Regions from separate parts of the Homo sapiens genome. Here all the other regions are linked to region 5. Evidence: promoter capture Hi-C in 16 types of primary human blood cells and fetal thymus (Javierre and others, 2016). All regions are on one chromosome and are shown on one strand. The core of a region is centred on a gene start or on the middle of the fragment in contact, and the rest is flanking DNA. Distances in the headings are between cores, read along the strand shown.

Evidence for each region. The method cuts DNA at HindIII sites, captures the fragments that hold promoters and counts their contacts. A CHiCAGO score of 5 or more calls a contact.
Region 1: a contact is called between a fragment that was not itself captured here and the fragment with the promoter of CAPRIN2 in region 5, in 5 of 17 cell types (total CD4 T cells, naive CD4 T cells, activated CD4 T cells and 2 more). The highest score is 9.4, in total CD4 T cells.
Region 2: a contact is called between a fragment that was not itself captured here and the fragment with the promoter of CAPRIN2 in region 5, in 6 of 17 cell types (monocytes, M2 macrophages, M1 macrophages and 3 more). The highest score is 13.1, in monocytes.
Region 3: a fragment that was not itself captured here is called in contact with the fragment with the promoter of CAPRIN2 in region 5 in 2 of 17 cell types (total B cells and non-activated CD4 T cells); the score reaches 5.5 in total B cells.
Region 4: a contact is called between a fragment that was not itself captured here and the fragment with the promoter of CAPRIN2 in region 5, in 5 of 17 cell types (M1 macrophages, non-activated CD4 T cells, naive CD8 T cells and 2 more). The highest score is 8.4, in M1 macrophages.
Region 6: a fragment that was not itself captured here is called in contact with the fragment with the promoter of CAPRIN2 in region 5 in 1 of 17 cell types (neutrophils); the score reaches 6.1 in neutrophils.
Region 7: a contact is called between a fragment that was not itself captured here and the fragment with the promoter of CAPRIN2 in region 5, in 1 of 17 cell types (activated CD4 T cells). The highest score is 5.9, in activated CD4 T cells.

Annotation. Positions count from the first base shown.
Region 1 is chr12:29,414,671-29,417,370 of GRCh38, forward strand. All of the region lies in intron 1 of OVCH1-AS1 (OVCH1 antisense RNA 1), which reads left to right. It also overlaps a transcript of OVCH1 not described here. Among named protein-coding and RNA genes, the nearest start is that of OVCH1-AS1, 27 kb to the left of the region's middle. The HindIII fragment of the contact is 489 bases long and covers 1,127-1,615 here.
Region 2 is chr12:29,433,325-29,436,024 of GRCh38, forward strand. All of the region lies in intron 1 of OVCH1-AS1 (OVCH1 antisense RNA 1), which reads left to right. It also overlaps a transcript of OVCH1 not described here. Among named protein-coding and RNA genes, the nearest start is that of OVCH1-AS1, 45 kb to the left of the region's middle. The HindIII fragment of the contact is 3,133 bases long and covers 1-2,700 here.
Region 3 is chr12:29,489,319-29,492,054 of GRCh38, forward strand. It overlaps OVCH1 (ovochymase 1), which reads right to left. Exons shown (of 26, transcript NM_001353179.2): 5 at 1,779-1,874; 6 at 302-453. Among named protein-coding and RNA genes, the nearest start is that of OVCH1, 7.0 kb to the right of the region's middle. The HindIII fragment of the contact is 376 bases long and covers 1,105-1,480 here.
Region 4 is chr12:29,452,299-29,455,135 of GRCh38, forward strand. OVCH1 (ovochymase 1) reads right to left here. Exons shown (of 26, transcript NM_001353179.2): 21 at 2,543-2,635. All of the region lies in intron 1 of OVCH1-AS1 (OVCH1 antisense RNA 1), which reads left to right. Among named protein-coding and RNA genes, the nearest start is that of OVCH1, 44 kb to the right of the region's middle. The HindIII fragment of the contact is 3,720 bases long and covers 1-2,837 here.
Region 5 is chr12:30,753,659-30,756,436 of GRCh38, forward strand. CAPRIN2 (caprin family member 2) reads right to left here and starts at 1,293. Exons shown (of 19, transcript NM_001385503.1): 1 at 1,093-1,293. LOC645485 (a long non-coding RNA gene) reads left to right here and starts at 1,416. Exons shown (of 2, transcript NR_135046.1): 1 at 1,416-1,613. RefSeq lists enhancers at 667-746, 750-919 and silencers at 847-1,526, 2,618-2,778. The HindIII fragment of the contact is 2,894 bases long and covers 310-2,778 here.
Region 6 is chr12:29,471,855-29,474,656 of GRCh38, forward strand. It overlaps OVCH1 (ovochymase 1), which reads right to left. Exons shown (of 26, transcript NM_001353179.2): 15 at 1,175-1,249; 16 at 1-128. All of the region lies in intron 1 of OVCH1-AS1 (OVCH1 antisense RNA 1), which reads left to right. Among named protein-coding and RNA genes, the nearest start is that of OVCH1, 24 kb to the right of the region's middle. The HindIII fragment of the contact is 6,415 bases long and covers 1-2,802 here.
Region 7 is chr12:29,390,582-29,393,392 of GRCh38, forward strand. The region is part of intron 1 of OVCH1-AS1 (OVCH1 antisense RNA 1); the gene reads left to right. Among named protein-coding and RNA genes, the nearest start is that of OVCH1-AS1, 2.7 kb to the left of the region's middle. The HindIII fragment of the contact is 3,369 bases long and covers 1-2,811 here.

The DNA.
Region 1 (2,700 bases), core at 121-2,620, 1.3 Mb before region 5:
TATTTTTACCCTAAATCTAGCAATTCTACTTCTGGGAAGTTTATTTTAAGGCAATCCTAGACCTGGAAAAAAAAAATATATATACAAGGATAGTCAATCCAGCATTATTAAAATTTTTTTAAAAAGGAAACAATCCATTTTCATATGAATTGTGGAAAGGCTACCATGTATCCATTAAAATTAATTATATTTTAAAAGTCTTTAATATTATGAAGCAATGCTGACAATCATAAATGAAAATATACAATAAAATAAAACTTACAATAGGTATATTATTACAACTACTTAAATACAAACGACTAGTACAGGAAATACATGAAAGAAGTATGCCCAAATATTCACATAAAGGTAATGATGCTGGAAATTACAGGTGGGAAGTGTCTTGTCTTTAATGGGAAAAAAGTCATCTCTCACTCTTCCCAGTGGAAAGAAATGAATAGGTACAGTTATAGATAAGTTACTAAATTCTTAGAGGGAAGAGAAACAAAATCTTATGTTACTGTTGGTATCAGGTGGTGTTAAGTAGGAAGCACAGTCCTCGGAGAACAGGAAAAAGGATCAAGATAAGAAAGTAAGGAAAGAAGGGCTGAAAAGAAGGGGGAACGTTTGTAATGACGACTGTGGATATTAGAAGACAGAATCATGCAGGCATACACCCAAGGATTGCTAAATGGTATTGAAATTGGAAACCACAAGATTTTAAGGGCACTAAATATCACCACTGGTCTTTGTCTAAAAGAATGCTTCTTAACCTTGGCTGCACATTAAAATTTCCACGAGAAATTTATAAAATACCACTGCTAGGTTCAGGAAGGACCAGGATATAAGGTCAACACAAAGAAGTCAATCACATTTCATGTTGAACCCTAACAAAATACCATTTACAACCACAATGAAGACAATGCAATACTTAGGTATACACTTAGCAAAACAGGTACAAGATCTGTATGCTGAAAATTGCAAAATTCTGGAGATGGAAATCAAAGAAGATCTAAATAAGTGGAGAGACATATTGTTCATGGATTGGAAGACTCATATAGTAAATATGTGAATTCTCCCCAAACTGAGCTATAGCTTTAATGCAATTTCTATCAAAATCACAGCAAGGGCTGTTGTAGACATAGCAAGCTTATTTTAAAATTTATACGAGAAAGCACAGACCTTAGCATATCTAAAACAATCTTCACCAAGAATAAATTGGAAGAAATCACTTTTCCATATAAAGCCTACTATGTAGGTACAATAATATGTAGTAGTATGTGAAAGGATAGAAACATAGCTCAACAAAAAAAAAGATCCCAGAAATAAACCTACACAAATATGCTCACTTTATTTATGGCAAAGGCACAAAAGCAATTCAACAGATGGTGTTAGAGCAACTGGCTATCCCTTAGACCACAAAAAAAGCAAAAAAAAAAGGAAAAAGGAAAGGATAGAGAGAAAAAGAGAGAAAGGAACTTCAACCTAAACCTTACACATTATACAAAAATTAACTGGAAAGGATCATGAAATTAAATGTAAAAGTGTAAGGCTAAGGCTATAGAACTTTTAGGAAGAGCAAAGGAAAAAATCTAGGGATGGACAAAGAATACTTAGACTTGACACCAAAAGGAGAAGCTTTTTTTTTTGAACGGAGCAATTGGACTTCATCTAAATTAAAAGTTTTGCCTTGTGAAAGACTCTGTTAAGAGGATGAAGAGACAAGCTAAGACTGGGAGGAACATCTGCAAACCATGTATTTGACAAAGGATTAGTGGCTAGAATATATAAAGAATCCTCAAACTCCGCACAGTAAGAAAACAATTCAATTGGAAAATAGGCTAAAGATATGAAGGGGCTTGTCACTGAAGAGGTTAAAAAATATTAAGTAAGTAAATGAAACATTGTTAGATACCATTAGCCATTAGGCAAATACAATAAGATATCACTACCACTACACACCTATCAGAATGGCTAACATTTTTTTAAAAAAGAATGACAATGGCAAATGCTAGTGAGGATGCAGAAAAACTAGGTCACTCACACATTGCTGGTGGGAATATAAAATGGTAAAACTACCATGGAAAAACAGCTTAGTTTATTACAAAACTAAACATGCAATTTCCATATAACCCAGAAATTACACTCTTGGACATTTATCCCACCAAAATGAAAACACATGTCCACACAAAAACTTGTACACAAATTTCCACAGGAGCTGTATTTGTAATAGCCCAGAGCTGGAAACAACCTAGATATGCTTTGACAGAAGAACCATTAAACAAACTGTGGTACATTCATACCATGGAATGCTATTCATGTATTAAAAGGAATGAACTATCAAAAGGAAAGAACTATTGAACAAGCACAGTACAACTTGGATAAATCTCCAGGGGACTGTGCTGAGTGGAAAAAGTCAATCCCAAAAGGTTACATACTATGCAGCTCCATTGATTAAATACTCTTGAAATAACAAAATTCTAGAAATAGAGAATAGATTAGTGGTTGCCAGGGATCTGGGAAAGGGTGAAGTGGGTTTTGCTATAAAAGAGCAACACTTTGAGAGGCCAAGGCGGGTGGATCACCTGAGGTCAGGAGTTCGAGACCAACCTGACAAACCTGACCAATATGGTGAAACCCCATCTCTACTAAAAATACAAAAACTTAGCCAGGCATGGTGGCATGCACCTGTAGTCTCAGCTACTCGGGAGGCTGAGACAG
Region 2 (2,700 bases), core at 106-2,605, 1.3 Mb before region 5:
GATGGTTTTATAAAAGGCAGTTCCCCAGCACACGCTCTCTTGCCTGCTGCCACATAAGACGTGCCTTTACTCCTCTTTCACCTTCCGCCATGATTATGAGGCCTCTCAAGCTGTGTGGAACTGTGAGTCCATTAACCCTCTTTTTCTTTATAAATTACCCAGTCTCAGGTATTTCTTCATAGCAGTATGAAAATGGACTAATACAGTAACTTAATATACTATATATTTTTATATGATTATTGACGATCTCCATTACTAGACTGTAAGTGCTACTATGGCAGGGACTGTCTTGTTCATTGCTCAATCTTCATTTCTTTGAATAGTGCCTGGCATATTCCTACAACAATTTGTTGGTGGTCTGAATAATTCTCGGTTTAAATGTGAGATTTTTTTCTATTTTATGTTAGTCCCTTATGATATACTTACATAACTTAAATTTGATGCAAATTTCTTCTGTTTTCTTTTTCCAACACTTCTTACATTATCATACTAAAATTAAGTAAAATGTTTTTAATGGAAATGCCTCCCAAACTGTATTTCAATTAACATGTCCAAAAAAAAAAGAAACAAAAGGTAAAATGGGCAGTAAAGCAAAGCCTGCTGGCTGATTAAAAAAAAATGAGTGTGAATGGATTAATCTTAAGTACTGAGGGAATTCTAATAAATATTCAGAATTAAATATAATGGCAAATGTTTCTCTATGATATCCGATTTCTATAATTTGCAATAGTTACCCGTTTTCATAATGCTATTAGTGCCTTTGCTCAAACCACAGGATGACGGACAAAGCGTATCTTTCAAAAATCTGGTTACAACTAACACATATGAACTAATCAAACAAGTAAAGAAAAAAAGGACAAATTATTCTTGATATTAGTACATTCAGGAAGTGAATTCCAAAAGAGAAAAGCTACTTGAAACTTCTTTGCTAGGGATAAAAATTTCTGACTGTATTGTCGCAATATTCCAAGTATCCAGAAAAATAAAGAGTATGCTTAGGTGTTAAAAAAAATCTGCTCAATCTTGTACTTCATACAGGTTTAGCATGAGGCCTCCACAGATTACAGAAGTCAGAATTTTAAATATTATATTTTTGTCCTTTCCTAAAGCTGACAAATGAAACAAAGAATTACAATCTATTAATTTACTTATTCGATAACAAAATTTTCCCAATAAAGCACAATAAATTGAACAAAAACATACATATGGAACAAAAGAAGCACAAGAAATTGAACAAAAACAACAAATAGGGAAAAAATGGACTTACCAGAAATACAAAAAGAGTCTCTCAGAGAAAACTCTTCATGGCCAAAATGACATTATATGTGAAAATCGTAAGAGATTTTCATAAAAGTGAATCTCTTTCACATAATTTACCTTGTCCCCAACAACAAAAAAAAACCTTACTATTCATCAAGACAAAGATTATTGAGCAAAGTAAAAAATTCTTATGTTTGAAATTATAAATTTCTGCTATATCAATATAAAAATGGGAAAAATAACTGAATAAAAGCCAATTAGAATAGAGAGCTGGATGTTCCCTATTCCTGAGTCTAAGCAGTTTTAAGACAGTAGTTCTAAATCAACTAGGACATAATGCCCAGTTCTTATGATGTCGGAATAACTTAGGTACATCTTTTAAAAACTATATGTTGTAAGAAAAGGTGACATGGTCTAAGACTGGGTCCTCAGGGAACTAAAAAGTTATTGCTGTCACCAAACTGAAATATAATATTTTTAGCAAGTATATTTGAGCTTTAGCTACATATAACCTTCATTTATCCACAGTGGCCAAATTTATAACAGGCAAGTTGCAGTAATTGCCACACAAGTCAAACCCATTAGTTGGTCAAAATGAAACATTTTAGACAGTATTTCTTAGAACAGCCAGACCCGTGGCGTGAGCCTGTAGTCCCAGCTACTGGGGAGGCTGAGGAACAGGATTGCTTGAGCCCAGGAGTTCAAGGCTGAATACACTACGATCATATCTATGAATAGTCACTGCACTTGAGCCTAGACAACATAGCGAGAACCTGTCTCTTAAAAACCACTTTTTTTTTGAGACGGAGTCTCGCTCTGTCGTCCAGGCTGGAGTGCAGTGGCGCGATCTCGGCTCACCACAAGCTCCTCCTTCTGGGTTCACGCCATTCTCCTGCCTCAGCCTCCCGAGCAGCTGGGACTACAGGCGCCCGCCTAATTTTTTGTATTTTTAGTAGAGACAGGGTTTCACTGTGTTAGCCAGGATGGTCTTGATCTCCTGACCCCGTGATCCGCCCACCTCGGCCTCCCAAAGTGCTGGGATTACAGGCATGAGCTACCGCACCCGGAGGCCCCGTGACTTAAAAAGGGTATTGGTAATAGCAGTTTCCTTCAACCTCCCACTACCCTAAGATTTCTAAAGCACCCCTCAGAAGATGATGTAATCTCATCTGGTTCCCTTTCTTGTGAGGCAGGCTGCTAAATGGTTTGAATACTGTCATGAAGCTCCCTGTAACTGCTCCACTATGAATCCATTTCAGCTTGTAGAACAAGACATATTTTTCCTCCTTCTTTTCCCTATTTATAGCCTTAAAATTAGAAATGTTTATTTATTCACTGGGAAAAATTTAGAGAATTTCAAAAAAAATTACTCATAATCTTATAAAGATGTCCAATTAAACATATTGATCTTTTTAGACCTGTATTTCATTTACTTTTTAA
Region 3 (2,736 bases), core at 43-2,542, 1.3 Mb before region 5:
TAATAAGATTGTGAAAGTGGTCATCTTGCTTGATTCCATTAGGTTGCACACGTTGAAACTAACCCCTTTTGCCAACCCACCGAAATAAAAGAAGTGTAGGGGTAGGAATGGACGTGGAGACAGGAAATAATTCTTTCTGCTCAGGTCAAGTACACTTTTTCAGTAGAAATCAGAGGAAAAGATGAAGGGAAAAAGAATTTTGACACAGTAATAGAAGAAACATGAGCTTCTTTTGGGGAAAGGCAGAATCTACTTTCACCCACATGTTACTGAACAGCTAGGCTGGTTTACACTTTTGTACCTGGCAGGCGTCCATTCCCCAATCAGGGAAGCCAGCACACAGCATGGTCCTTCCCAGGGGAGGGAGGTTCATGCTCTTGAGCACAGTATTACACGCTCTGTCATCCATGATGGGAAGTTCCATTTCTTGTAGGACATTTGAATATTCTGATGCTGTAGAGAGAGGACAGATAAGTTAGCACACAATATCCTCATGGAAACAAATTAATGGGAAGTCTACAAGTTTGGAACTATTTCAAACAGATTTTTAACCACATGTAGAAGTAATTGTTTTTAGGTGTGAATCATATTCACTTCTAAAAATCAGATATGTGGCAGAGGACATTTTTTGAAAATTCAGCAGATTTTTAAGGTAACATAGGCAATTGTACAATTGTGGCTGCTCTAAACAAATGCTTAAATGTTTCCCCAAAAGAGGAAAACTTTGGTCAATATGGCAATGTTTTATAAAAATGATTTTTTTAAGACAAGGTGTCCCTCTGTCACTCAGGCTGGAGTGCAATGGTACAATCAAGGCTCACTGTAGCCTCAACCTCCTGGGAGCAAGTGATTCTCCCACCTCAGTTTCCCAAGTAGCTGGGACTACAGGCATGCCACCGTGATTTGCTAATTTTTTATTTTTTATTTATTTATTTATTTATTTTTGTGGAGACAAGGTCTTCCTATGTTATCCAGGCTGGTCTGGAACTGCTGGGCTCCCATCTTCCTGCCTTGGCCTCCCAAAGTGCTAAGATTACAGGCGTGAGCCACTGCGCCCTGCCTAAAATTATTTATAAAATAAAAAATCACAATGTATTGTTGTCAAGCTTTAGGTATAGTTGACAAATAAAAATTGTATTTATTCAAGGAGTACAAAGTGATGTTTTAATATATGTATACATTGCAAAATGATTACCATAATCATGGTAATTAACATTACATCACCCCACAGAGTTAACTTTTTTGTAGTGAGAATACTTAACATTTACTCTCTTGGCAAATTTCAAGTATTCAATATATTAACTATAGTTCCCATGCAGTATATTGGATTTCCAGAACTTACTTGTCATACAATTCCACATTTACACCCTTTGAACCACATCTTCCCGTTTCTCTCATTCTCAAATTCCAGGTAATCACCCTTCTACTTTTTGTTTCCGAGTCTGACTTTTCAAAAAAGTCACAATATTAAAGACAAAGAAGCTTAACTATTGTTGCTATTTCCTGATCATCCTTTTGCCTTATTCCTCCTCATCTGTCACAGCTCTATCCAGCTTCCTTTATCTGCCATACCAAATTGGCAGCAGCAGGAGTGATATGAATAGCCTTTTTAAAAGTATAAGCCTTTCAATGCTGAGGACTACCAGAAATCTTCGTTGTGTCAGAAATTAGTTATAAAAAATGATAAATGTACTACTCATGGTCAACAAAATTATTTCTGCTTCCCCTGGACATACAGAGAGCTGGAAGAAGTATTAAGTCATTTTGGTGTCTCTTACTTTTGGAAATCTTGCCCCATCCACTGGATAAGCAAAGAATTCCTGGTTCAACTTTATCATCGCTGTCAGGAAGACAGATTGGCTGAACAGCATTTCCTGAGAAAACAACAAAGGCATGAGGTTCATGGATAAATACGCCATGTTGAATATATTTGGAAAAGTGAAATCTCTTGATTTCATGGCTTCTACACTTTCTTCCTAAATGTAATGGTGACATATTTTAAGTTTTGGCCCCTCCATATAAAACCGTTTTGTATTTATAGAAATTTTGAGAAATGCAGAAAAAGTAAAACAAGGATAAACATAAGGCCAATTGTTCCGCACACCACGAGCCCCCTAATGTACTAACATTTTAGACTATGCCTGTGTTTTGAAAGGGTAGTTTTTCACTTGACAGTTATTGAACACAAATCCAGAGGAATTAGCCAGGCCACTGCCTTTGAGAGATTGAATTGATCTTTAAGATCCTAGAAATTTAACTGGCCATGAGAGGAGCTGTAAAGAACCTGGGAAGCTTAGAAAAAATATGGATAATGGTGGGAAGAGACTGTAATTCAAGAGAAAGTGGCTGAGGACTGATCACAATTGATATCCAAATCTTTAGAAAAAAGCCCAGTAACTCCAACTATGATGCAAAAAATAATTTTGTATCTAGACATTGCTGAAAATGTAGCACACTAAAAACAAAGAATGGATCTCAAAAAAATCTAGAAGGAAAAAAACATATTACCAAAAATGGAATGTTCTTGATTTCTCAACAGCAGTAAGCGAATGTTAGAAGACAGTAGAACAAGATGATCAAATTATCACGTGGCAAGCACTCTTTTAGATCTCAACGAATGAACAGAAAGAAAAATATCTCTGTCTTGGTAGAACCTCATGAGTGTATATATTTGTGTTTGTGTGTTGGGTGAGAGGAGAAGAAACAAACAGCAAATATAATACATTGTTCAGTGGT
Region 4 (2,837 bases), core at 221-2,720, 1.3 Mb before region 5:
AGGAGGAGGTACGTAAACATGCTTTTATTCACAGTAGAGGTGAAAAGTAGAATAAGGGAAATGAAGTGCTACAAAAACTTAGGATTCTATTCTATTGTTTGGTTCTCTGTCATTTCTTTGTTAGTCCTCTTTTTTTATCTGTACAGCTACAAGAACCAATCAGATATTTAACATTTTGATTTAATAGTAAACTAAATGATTTTTCAGTCTATAATCTTCCCTCGCCTTGCCCTACCATCTGGGAATGGTGTATAAAACAAAAAAAATCAAATTGTTTTCCTGCTGAAAGCAACTGAAGTAGTTCAGCTTGCAAGATCTTTCAGAGTCTGGCCTCAGCCTGTCTTTCTAATCTTTTTAGTTTTTCTCCCTCTCTATATGAATCCTCTGTGAAAAATCTGACCAGAAATCACATACAGCCATGAATTACCAACAAGTCAAGACTTTTTATAAATGGGAGTAACAATTGAAAGAAACCATTGCTAAGATTCATTAATTCCCTAGTGTAAAAAGTTAGTAGCGGGAGTGGGTGGGTGTTAAATATGGCATGGTCCTAACATTTTGTCTCCGAAAATAATCATAGAATAAAAACAAAGCAACACCTTTCCGTATATAAAACTTTCAAAGTTTTTGGCGTGCATAACCATTTCTGAACATATTTAAAAGAGAAACATTTTCTTTACATTTTAACAATGTTCATTTTCTAATGGTCTGAATAAGGTCATTCAAAAAATACATTAGATGGCACTGTCACCACCATTTATGGACCCTTATCTCAGGTCAGACCCTTCCTGTTATAAATGCCTTACATGGATTAACCTATTTAGGCACTCACTGAATTCATTCATTTAACTCAGTCCATTGAAATCAATAGTTTATAGGATCTTGGACCCAAGTCTGCTCTCTGTCTCAATCCCAAGTCCAGATTTACTTTTAACCTAACTCTATGTATCCCCAGCTTTGACTCTTTGACTCATGTTGCCAGACAAATGGTCCTGGGTCCACTCCTTATTCCTGGAAGATTTTAGCGGTCATTTTCTCCAACACTTTTCCTGTCATAATTCTTTCTGAATTCAATCACTATATACATGATGATTCCAGCACTGAAGTTTCCCAGCTCCTCAATTTTCCTCCAGTGATCTTGTATTCCACCTGACCTCAGCCACTTATCCTTATGGTCAGCCCCTAGACACTTGATCAGTAGCAATAACTCCAAGCCTTCTGTAATCTCGGTTTCAGGAACCATTTTCTCCAACCACAACCTTCCATCTTTTCAGCCTCCCTTAATACTCCTTCCACCTTTTGGGACTCATAATTTATCTATCCTACCTTATTTTTGTCCCAAACAAATCTCTCATCCTTATTTCACTCCTTACCCATCCTAAATTCCAATGATCCATCATTTTAACCACTTTTTCACATACACTCTGAATTCCCTTATACCCTTCACATACTTGGGGATACTCCACTTTGATTAAGTCTACCCTCTACCTACTCTGCATCTACCTCAGTGCATCCAGAGGAAAACATACAACTAAGCTAACTGGGGGCATTTTGCTCTCTCAATTTATGATCATTCATCTCAGGGGGCCTTTATGCTACCCAGCAATCCTACTATATCTTTCTAGTTCACTATGTCATTTTCTCGAGAAATATGTCATCCTTTTTTCTCTTAAAAATCAAACTTTCTTGAACAACCGCTTCTTTTTGTTCATCTGCTAAGAAAAAGAAGCCATCAGAAGAGAAATTCCACAGGCTCCGATCTCCATCTATTCCCAAACACCTCATACCTGCACCGGTGCCTCAAGATCCTGCCTTCCATCAGTTAACTATAGATGATATGTACTTTGCTCCTAAGACCATCGCCTCCTTTTGGGTACTAGATCTCATCTTCTTTCTTCTACTCAAAGTCATCACTCTTGCAATTCTACCTTCTATATCTTACATTTTCTTTAAACTCTTACTAGTTGTTTACTGGGGTTGAATGTATTGGGGAAGATGTGGGCAACAAAAGAAAGACTGACCATTTGGAAACCAAGAGTGATAATAAAATAGAACTTCCATCTTCCTACAAGTCTATTAGAGATTTCAAATCCTCCATTGCTGTTAGTTTTGACTAAAAATCAAAATCCTCTTTTATCAAACAGAGAGTGGCAACTGTGGAAGAATGAAGAGAAATACTAATGCTGGCGCTAGTCTTGGTCATCTCATACCCAGGGTCTTTACCTAGGCAAGATACTTGCATATAGAAGGACTTTTATTCAGATTCAGAGCTTAAAATAATTCTATGTAATTCTCCAATATTCAAGCACTGGTTCACAACCACAAGATTTTTTTAAAAATCTGCAACAGGTCTAGCTTTGGGGTAGGAATGATCTCCAACAATCTTAATAACAACTCTCCCCACTTTCAGCTAAAACTACCAACCAGAAGGAAAACACAGAGGTTATAGTGTTCCATAGAAAATTTAGCAAAGCTAGACAGACAATGCTTCTTGCCAAATTCTGGCTGAAAGTATTAATGGGATAATGTAAACATTTATTACCTGGCCAAGATGCACTGTCTGGTGAAGGTGTGGGTGGTGGCAATTGTTGTTTTAAGGTTTTGCATTTATTATTTGTCTGAAGTGAAGCAGGACCTGTATTTGGGGAGAACATGTTAAAAATAAAGATGAAAGCCTGAGAACAAAATATAGTGGGCACTAAAGCAGCCACTATCAAAAGAAACAAAAAAGAAACAAATCCAGGATTAAAGCAGCCTAAGGAAAAGTCAGTTTAACTCTACACATGGGAGAACTTATTTTGCAGAATCTTGCATTTTAGTGTGTTTAGTAACTAAAT
Region 5 (2,778 bases), core at 43-2,542:
CAGCCAGGCAATAACTTCCCTGGAAAGTCTAGACCACTCCCTTAAACTCTTTTCCACAGAAGTGAGCTCGAAACCCAATGATGCTTGAGATACTTGTACTTCCATCCTACTTTTAAAGTAATTAGTGCCGCTAGCCAATAAGGATAGCCTTTACATAGGCAAAATCTCCCAATACGGAGGATGTTTCCAGAAATTCGATTTTCCACATAGGGAGGAAGAACTGCAACGGCTTCAGAGCTCCTTTCTTCTCATGAGGGCAGATCACATTCTAAATAATTCCCATGGCCACGTGATGACACCAAAAGAATAAGCTTTCCACACCGGGACCTAAGGCTGAGCCACTCAAACCTCTTTACATGATCCCTCACCACCAGCCCTAACCTCAATCCTGAACGTTTGGAAGAAAATCCAAACTCACAACATTCTTTTATAGCTCTAAGTGAACCAGCAGCTTCTTGAACAAGAATGCTAACTTCCCCGATTGCTCTGGGGCCTACAAGGCAATCCATCACTACTGGACATTTGCAGACAGGTACTCTCTCAACCTGCAGGAACCCCGCGTTTATTCTCAGTTGTTTGGTTTAGACTAGCCCAAAACCGCTTACACCCAACCAGTTTAAGAGCTCATTCTAGCGAGCCCTTCCCGTGCCCTAATCAGTGGCCCTTGCGCACTTACGTATCCGTCTCTCGACCTCCAAGCACCCGAGGTATCCCTTTCTCCCCCCTTAGGAGCATCCCCAAACCAAGGACAGAACAGGCCCCATGCACGCCAGCGCGCACCCCCTCAAGTCTCCGGGGGAGCCTGAGCGAAGAGCACCTCTCCCGAGCGGCCACGGAGAGCCCTGCAGGCACCGACCCCCACCCTTCCCACAGCCGCCCCGGGTACGCAGAAGCCGCTTCTGCAAGGCCCCGGGGGAGGCTGACCTGCGGAAAACGCACCGACCGCGGCCCTCGGGAGCCCCGCCCCGCCCCGGGGATGCCAAGCCGCCCCTCCACCTCGCAGCGGCGCCGGCCGCCCAGACCTGCCCACCCTCGCCGGGTCAGCCGCCTCCCTCCGCCGCGCCGACCGAGGCCGCCGCAGCCCGACTTCACCTCCCCAGGCAGCCGAGGCCGCCGCTGCCGCAGCCCGGGCCCGCCTTCCAAAGCCTGGGGGAGGCAGGAGCGCTGCGGAGGTGGACCGGCGCCACCCCGCACTCGCGTCTCCTCCTCCTGTCTCCTCCCTCTCCCCTCCCGGTCCTCGCCCGCGGCCTCTGCGGCGCCAGAGACCCAGCCGACTCAGCCGCTCGCGCCCAGGCCCGCCCACCGCGCCGCGCGTGGCTTTTGTAGGCCGCGCCCCGCCCCGGCCCGCTCCGCCCTCGGCCGCCCCGCCACCGCCTCCTTCCGGTGCTCCTTCCCGGCTGCAGCTGGCCGCCAGCGCTTGTCGGGTGTTAGTTCCGGGCCCAGCTTGGGCTGGTGGTAGGTCGGGAGAGGGCGCGGTCTCCCAGCCTTTGCGCAGATTGCGGGGCACCAGGTGGGGCCGAGGCGACGCCGAACGCCGGCAGGCCGGAAACCGCGCAGCCCCGCTGGACCTCGCTGATTGCCGGCGGCACCGGTGGTTTCGCGACCTTGAACAGGTGACTCCAATAGCTCCAGGAGGGCAGCGAGCCCTTCGCGGAACTACCAGATAAGCCATGCTTGAGGCTGTCGTAGCCTAGTGGGTAGTCGTGAAATGCAGATGCGCCTTTGCCCCTCAGATAGCATCTTTCATAGTAGGATGGGGAAAAAACACCGTTTCCTTACCGGGGAATCAGCCTGTAAGAGCAGAATGCCCCAAATCAGCATCGCCATAAAAACGGAGTAGGTGACTTCGCAACCTGCAATAATAGGATTGAGTTTATTCAAGCCGTATTATTTGTTCATGTGACACACATTAATTGACTGGCACGCAGAGAAAGCTGTAAAAAATCTTTGTAAGGTTACATAAAATTAAGAGAAAAGTCTGGAAATATGTAAAAGTTTATTGAGGAAAGGAAGGTGTTTCTGATACCAAATAAGAAACACACACACACACTCAGCAATACTTTGCCCCAACATGTGTTTACTTATTACACCAAGTGGAGTTTTTTAGGTCCTGATTGTCCCTGACGCTCTGATAAAAAATATTGAGACTAGCAAAAGAACAGAAAATTCAGAAGAAGAATCAAGGAAACAAAGGTCTAGTTTTAAAAGCCTTGGTCAACTTCACACAAATTAATTTTAACATTACTTAATACATTTTTTTGGCATCTATTATCCGTGTTCTTTTCGGTCCCTGGTGACATAATGTACCCTAATGTTGCATTTTAACTTTGAATCTCTGAATCCCATATGTGTTCTTCAGGGTCAGAGAAATACTAGATTTTCCCTTTTTCTCATTGTTTATAAACAGAGAAACGCAGAAGATGCTGAACATGAGGAGAGGAAGGCTATGCCTTCACCTTTGGTAACACAAAAAACAGTGGCCATAAGAAAAAATGTGAAGGACACACTGTTGGATCAATGAGTTGACACAAAGTTACAGCACAGCCTGAGTTGTAGTCCGAGCTAATGATGAACCTAAAAATGGTATTTCAGTCAGATTAATCATGAAATGTTTGCCCCCTGCCGGCGCAGTGGCTCAAGCCTGTGATCCCAGCACTTTGGGAGGCCGAGGCGGGGTGGATCACCTGAGGTCGGGAGTTCGAGGCCAGGCTGGCCAGCGTGGTGAATATCCATCTCTACTAAAAATACAAAAATTAGCCGAGCATGGCGGCATGTGCC
Region 6 (2,802 bases), core at 39-2,538, 1.3 Mb before region 5:
TCCACATTGGTAATCGCCTAGAAACCTCAGACCCACCTGCCATGGCCAACAGTGGGGGCAGGCTTCTTCCCCTCCTGCGATTCTTCTGGAAAGCCACTGGGGACTAAATGGAGGGATGCCACAGACATCTACAGTAAAGATGAAACCAATGACCCATAAGGTTGCAGTAATTTAGAACATACTCCTCCAATAGCTTGCCATAGTTAACAGTAGTGATTCTCAAACATCAGATAGGCTTTATAATAATATTGACTCCCAAAACTCACCTCTGAAAAATCTGATTTTAAGAAGCCTTCCCAGACTATGCTAGGCAACCAGAATTTTAGGGACTGGCCTACAGAATTTTATTTATTCATTTAGCAAATATTTATTTAGTGCTTGCCATTTGCTAGGCACTGTTCCAGACATTGGTGATATATTATTGGTGGAATAGAATAGATGATAAAAATACTGGCCCCCATGGAACTTACATTCTAGTAGGAAAATTTCAAGTTTGTTAGCAGAGTACATAAGGTTCTTCATTATATCTTCTTGTTTTAGTTCTTGTTCTCACTGTATGAATCCATGTATCAATCCTCAAACATATCAAATTTGCTCAGGCATCTAAATGCTGTTCTCTTATCAGGAATTGATGAGACCCATAGCCCAAGCACTAATCTCTAGGAAGCCTTCTCCAACCCTCCAGCAACAGGCAGATATTTTCTTCTCTAATAGCTCCTTGTGCAACTTTCTATTCCAGTCCATCAACTTGAACATATTCAATACATGTATGTGGAACAATGAGGGATCATAGTATTTACCCAGATGCCTTAGAGCATAAGGAAATTAAAAGATGCCAGTGTGAATTTAAAATAAAAAACCTTTGTTTTCTCTCTTTGCCCCACACTGACTATAGAAGTCATTTTAAATATTAAGTTTGTAGAGGAATGAATGAGGACAAAACATTGCTTTATACCCTTTTCTTCCTAACCTAAAGCTCATTTGTTCTTCCCTCTATTTATGAGTCTAACTATAAATCCAAATATGACTCTGGACGTTTTATGGACCTAAATATAAGACTCATTCTTCTTCACTGTGGAGTTATAGCCAATGTAAGATAAGGGCTTCCAAAAGAGACATCTAGTTAATGAAGAAACAAGATTAAACAGATAGTAATAACATGTCACCAACTCACCATGCAGAATAGCTTTTACGGTAGATACAGGATTGTTTTGGGGAGGTAACTTTGGTTCAAATTTGTTTAAAGACTCTGTAGAAGAAAAAAAAATTAATTGAAAGTAATTAGAGAAGTTGCACTAACTGACCCCACTTGCTTACCCTGGTAAATCATAAAACTACTCTACTGTAGATCTCACTAACACTACCATTCATACACTAGATGCCAGATCCCAGAAATGTGATTTCTTGTATATCCGTTAATATCCCTGTTCCATCTGGCTCTTTTAAGCACTTCTTCCTTCCTTGGTTTCTTGATATTAATCTCATGGTTTTCCTTATACATTGATGGCTGTTTTCAATATCAGTCTTTTTTTCAGGATCTCATTGTTTAGCCTGAAAAGATATTGCCAAGGTAATGTTCATTACTCTATTTTTATTCATCTACATGTAGATGACTTCCAAATTTCTCTCTTCAATCTAAATCTCTTTCCTGAATCCTAGACCTAAGACTTTTAGATATCCCCACTTGGATTTCCCACAAGCTAATATCTACATGTCTTAAATTGAACCAAATGATTTTAAGAGTCAATACAGTCTTGTTCTTACATTTCTCTATCATCTAGTGGCTTCTACCACTCACCTCGCCATTCAAGCTAGGATCTTGAAAATCATATTTGTGATGGTTAATACTGAGTGTCAACTTGATTGGATTGAGGGACACAAAGTATTAATCCTGGGTGTGTCTGTGTGGGTGTTGCCAAAAGAATTTAACATTTGAGTTAGTGGGCTGGGGAAGGCAGATCCACCCTTAATCTGGTGGGCACAATCTAATCAGCTTCCAGCTAACATAAAGCAGGCAGAAAAACATGTAAACAGAGATGGGCCTAGCCTCCCAGCCTACATCTTTCTTCCATGCTGGATGCTTCCTGCCCTAGAACACTGGACTCCAAGTTCTTCAGTTTTGGGACTCGGACTGGCTTTCCTTGCTCCTCAGCTTGCAGACAGCCTACTGTGGGACCTTGTGATCATGTAAGTTAATACTTAATAAACACACACACACATACACACACACACACACACACACACACACACATATATATATCTGTCCCTCTAAGAGAACCCTGACTAATACAACACTGGACTTGTCTTCCTTCATATATTCCATCCCTACTATATATATAATAAAACAATACGTATAGAATAAATTCTTTACAATGATTTTCTCAGTACTTTTCTTGCATGTAAGTTCATTCATAATCTTCCAGGTTACTCTGGAGTCAGAGAGGCCAAGTTCTGACTCCACCTCTTGCCAGCTGTGTATCTTTGGGAACGTTACTTAACTTCTCAAAGCCTCACTTCCCTCACTGGTGAGAGGAGAGCAATGCACATAACTCCTATGTATGTAAGGAGGAATAAATGAGATAATGCATGTGAAATGCTTAGTGAATACCTGCTACAGGGCAAGTAATCAAAAGTTAGCTAGCTATCCTATCACTCTGGCACTTATAATTTAATGCCTCATGTTCAACATGATCTCACTCCTGCCTTTTCTATTATTCCCTCCAAAACTCAAAACATGTAGAGTTATTTGTAGTTTTCTTATACGTTGTCCATTCTCTTTTGTGAGGGTTTCTGCATATGATA
Region 7 (2,811 bases), core at 280-2,779, 1.4 Mb before region 5:
TCATTGTGCAGTGTGGTTCAGGGGAAGAGAGAGGAGGGGGAGGTGCAGAGAGCTCTATGACATCCTGTTTACAGCGAGGCAAGATGAATCATTATCTCTGTGCGTTTTGTTTTACTTATCTGTGTATATAGTGTACATAAAGGACAGACGAATCCTAATTGACAACATCTAGTCTTTCTGGATGTTAAAGAGGTTGCCAGTGTATGACAAAAGTAGAGTTAGTAAACTAATATATTTTGTACATTTTGTTTTACAAGTCCTAGGAAAGATTGTCTTCTGAAAATTTGATGTATTCTGGGTTGATGGAAATGGGAAGGGTTCTAGGCCAGAATGTTCACATTTGGAAGACTCTTTCAAATTATAACTGTTTTTACATGTTTGCAGTTTATTCAAGACTGCTGTATACATAGTAGACAAATTAACTCCTTACTTGAAACATCTAGTCTATCTAGATGTTTAGAAGTGCCCAATGTATGTTAAATGTAGAGGTAGTAAAATACCACTTTGTAAATATCTTTTTGCTAAAATTCATAGGAAATACTTCTGGAAATTGAATTGTGAAGCCACCTTTGTGAGCAGTATAGTAATGTCTATACTTGTTCAATGGTTTAGAGGAAGTGGGAGGGAAGAAATTGCAAAAGGTAATATACTAGTGTGTTCATACTTGGACGTTTTCAGACACCATTTTTCTATATGTTTTGTGCATTTTGTTTTGCTCTGTATATAGTGTATATAATGGACAAATAGTCCTAATTTTTCAACATCTAGTCTCTAGATGTTAAAGAGGTTGCCAGTGTATGACAATGTAGTAAAATTAGCATATTTTGTACTCTTTGTGTTGAAATTCATACGAAAACTTGTCTTCTGTAAATGACTTTTGCATAGGAATTTGGTCAACCATCTCTAAGCATTACATGTGCCTGTACTTGTCCACTGGATTGAAGGCAGAGAAGGAAGGGAGGGGGGAATGATTCAAGGCCAAAATGGCCACATTTAGAAGATACCTCAGATGATAACCATTGTTATGTGTGTGCAATTTTATTTAACAGTGCTGTGTACGTGGTGGACAAGTTATATGAAATATCTAGTCTTTCTAGATATTTGGAAGTGCTTGATGTATTTAAAAGTGGTAGTAGAATAACACTTTGTAAATAGCTTTTAAAAACTGATGGGAAATGCTGTTTGGAAGTGGAATTGTTGAACCACCTGGGAGGTGGGAGGGAAGAAATTGCAAATGGTGTTTTGACATTGTTTATTAACAAATTTCAGCTTAATCCATTGCCTATATGTTACATGCATTTCATTTAACTTTGCTATACTGTGTATATAATGGACAAATGAGTCCCGATTTTATAATATCTAGTCTCTAGATACTAAAGAGGTTGCCAATGTATGACAGAAGTAGAGTTAGTAAACTAACACATTTTGTACACTTTGTTAAAATTTGTAGAAAAGCTGTCTTGTGAAAAGGACTTTTGGAAGTGAGATAACATCAGCTCTAAGTGACACGTGCCTATATCCACCAGGTTGGTGGTGGAGAGGAGTTGGAAGGAATGAAGGGTTCTAGACCAGAATGTTCCTATTTAGAAGACACTTTCAGATATACCCATTGTTACATGTGTGTAGTTTATTCAACACTACTGTGTATATAGCGGACAAACTTAAGTCCTTATTTGAAACATCTAGTCTTTCTAGATGTTTAGAAGTGCACAAAGTATGTTAAAAGTAGAGGTAGTAAATAACACATTTTGTAGCTATCCTTTTGATATGAAATATTGTCTTGGAAATTGATCAATTCTCTGAGCAGTACACATTTTGATATTTGTGCTGGTTCAGGGGGAAGGAGGAGCACAAAGTGCAAAGGGCTTTCTACCAGTGTCCAGTGTGTTTATGAGGAGGCACATTGACCATTGTCCCTTATGTCTGCATTTTCATTTACTGTGCTGTGTATATAGTGTATATAAGTGGACAAAGGAGTCCTAATTTACATCCAGTCGACGTTAAAAAGGTTGCCAGTATATGACAAAAGTAGAATTAGTAAACTACTACATTGAGTACACTTTGTGTTAAAATTCATAGGAAAGACTTCTTAAAAACAGAAGTGAGATTGTTAAAATCCCCCCTAAGCATTACAGATGGCTTATAGCTGTCCACGGGGTTGGTAGAGGTGGGAAAGGGAAGGGTTCTAGGCCAGAATGTTCCTATTTAGAAGACACTCAAATTACAGTCTGTGTTATGTATGTATACCATTTATTCAATGCTACTGTGTATATAATGAAAAACTTAAGTCCAGTTTGAAACATCTAGTCTTTCTAGGTGTTTAAAAGTGTACAACGGCCTGTTGCAGTGGCTCATACCTGTAATCCCAGCACTTTGGGAGGCCGAGGCAGGCGGATCACGGGGTCAAGAGATCGAGACCATCTTGGCCAACATAGTGAAACCCCATCTCTATTAAAAATACAAAAATTAGCTGGTCGTGGTGGTGTCCACCTGTAGCCCCAGTTACTCGGGAGGCTGAGGCAGGAGAATCGCTTGAACTTGGGAGGTGGAGGTTGCAGTGAGCCGAGATCGCACCACTGCACTCCAGCCTGGCGACAGAGCGAGACTCCGTTTCAAAAAAAAAAAGTGCACAATGTAGGTTAAAAGTAGAGGGCTTAAGTAACACCCCTCTAAGCATTTGTTTTCAGTACTTCCTAGGAGTGGTTGCATTTGGGAATGGAATTGTTAAAAGGTGATGCTTAGGAGCGAATGCAGACTATTCATTAGGTGGTTGGGGCGGGGGAAGCGGGGGTGGGCAGAGGAGGTATGCAG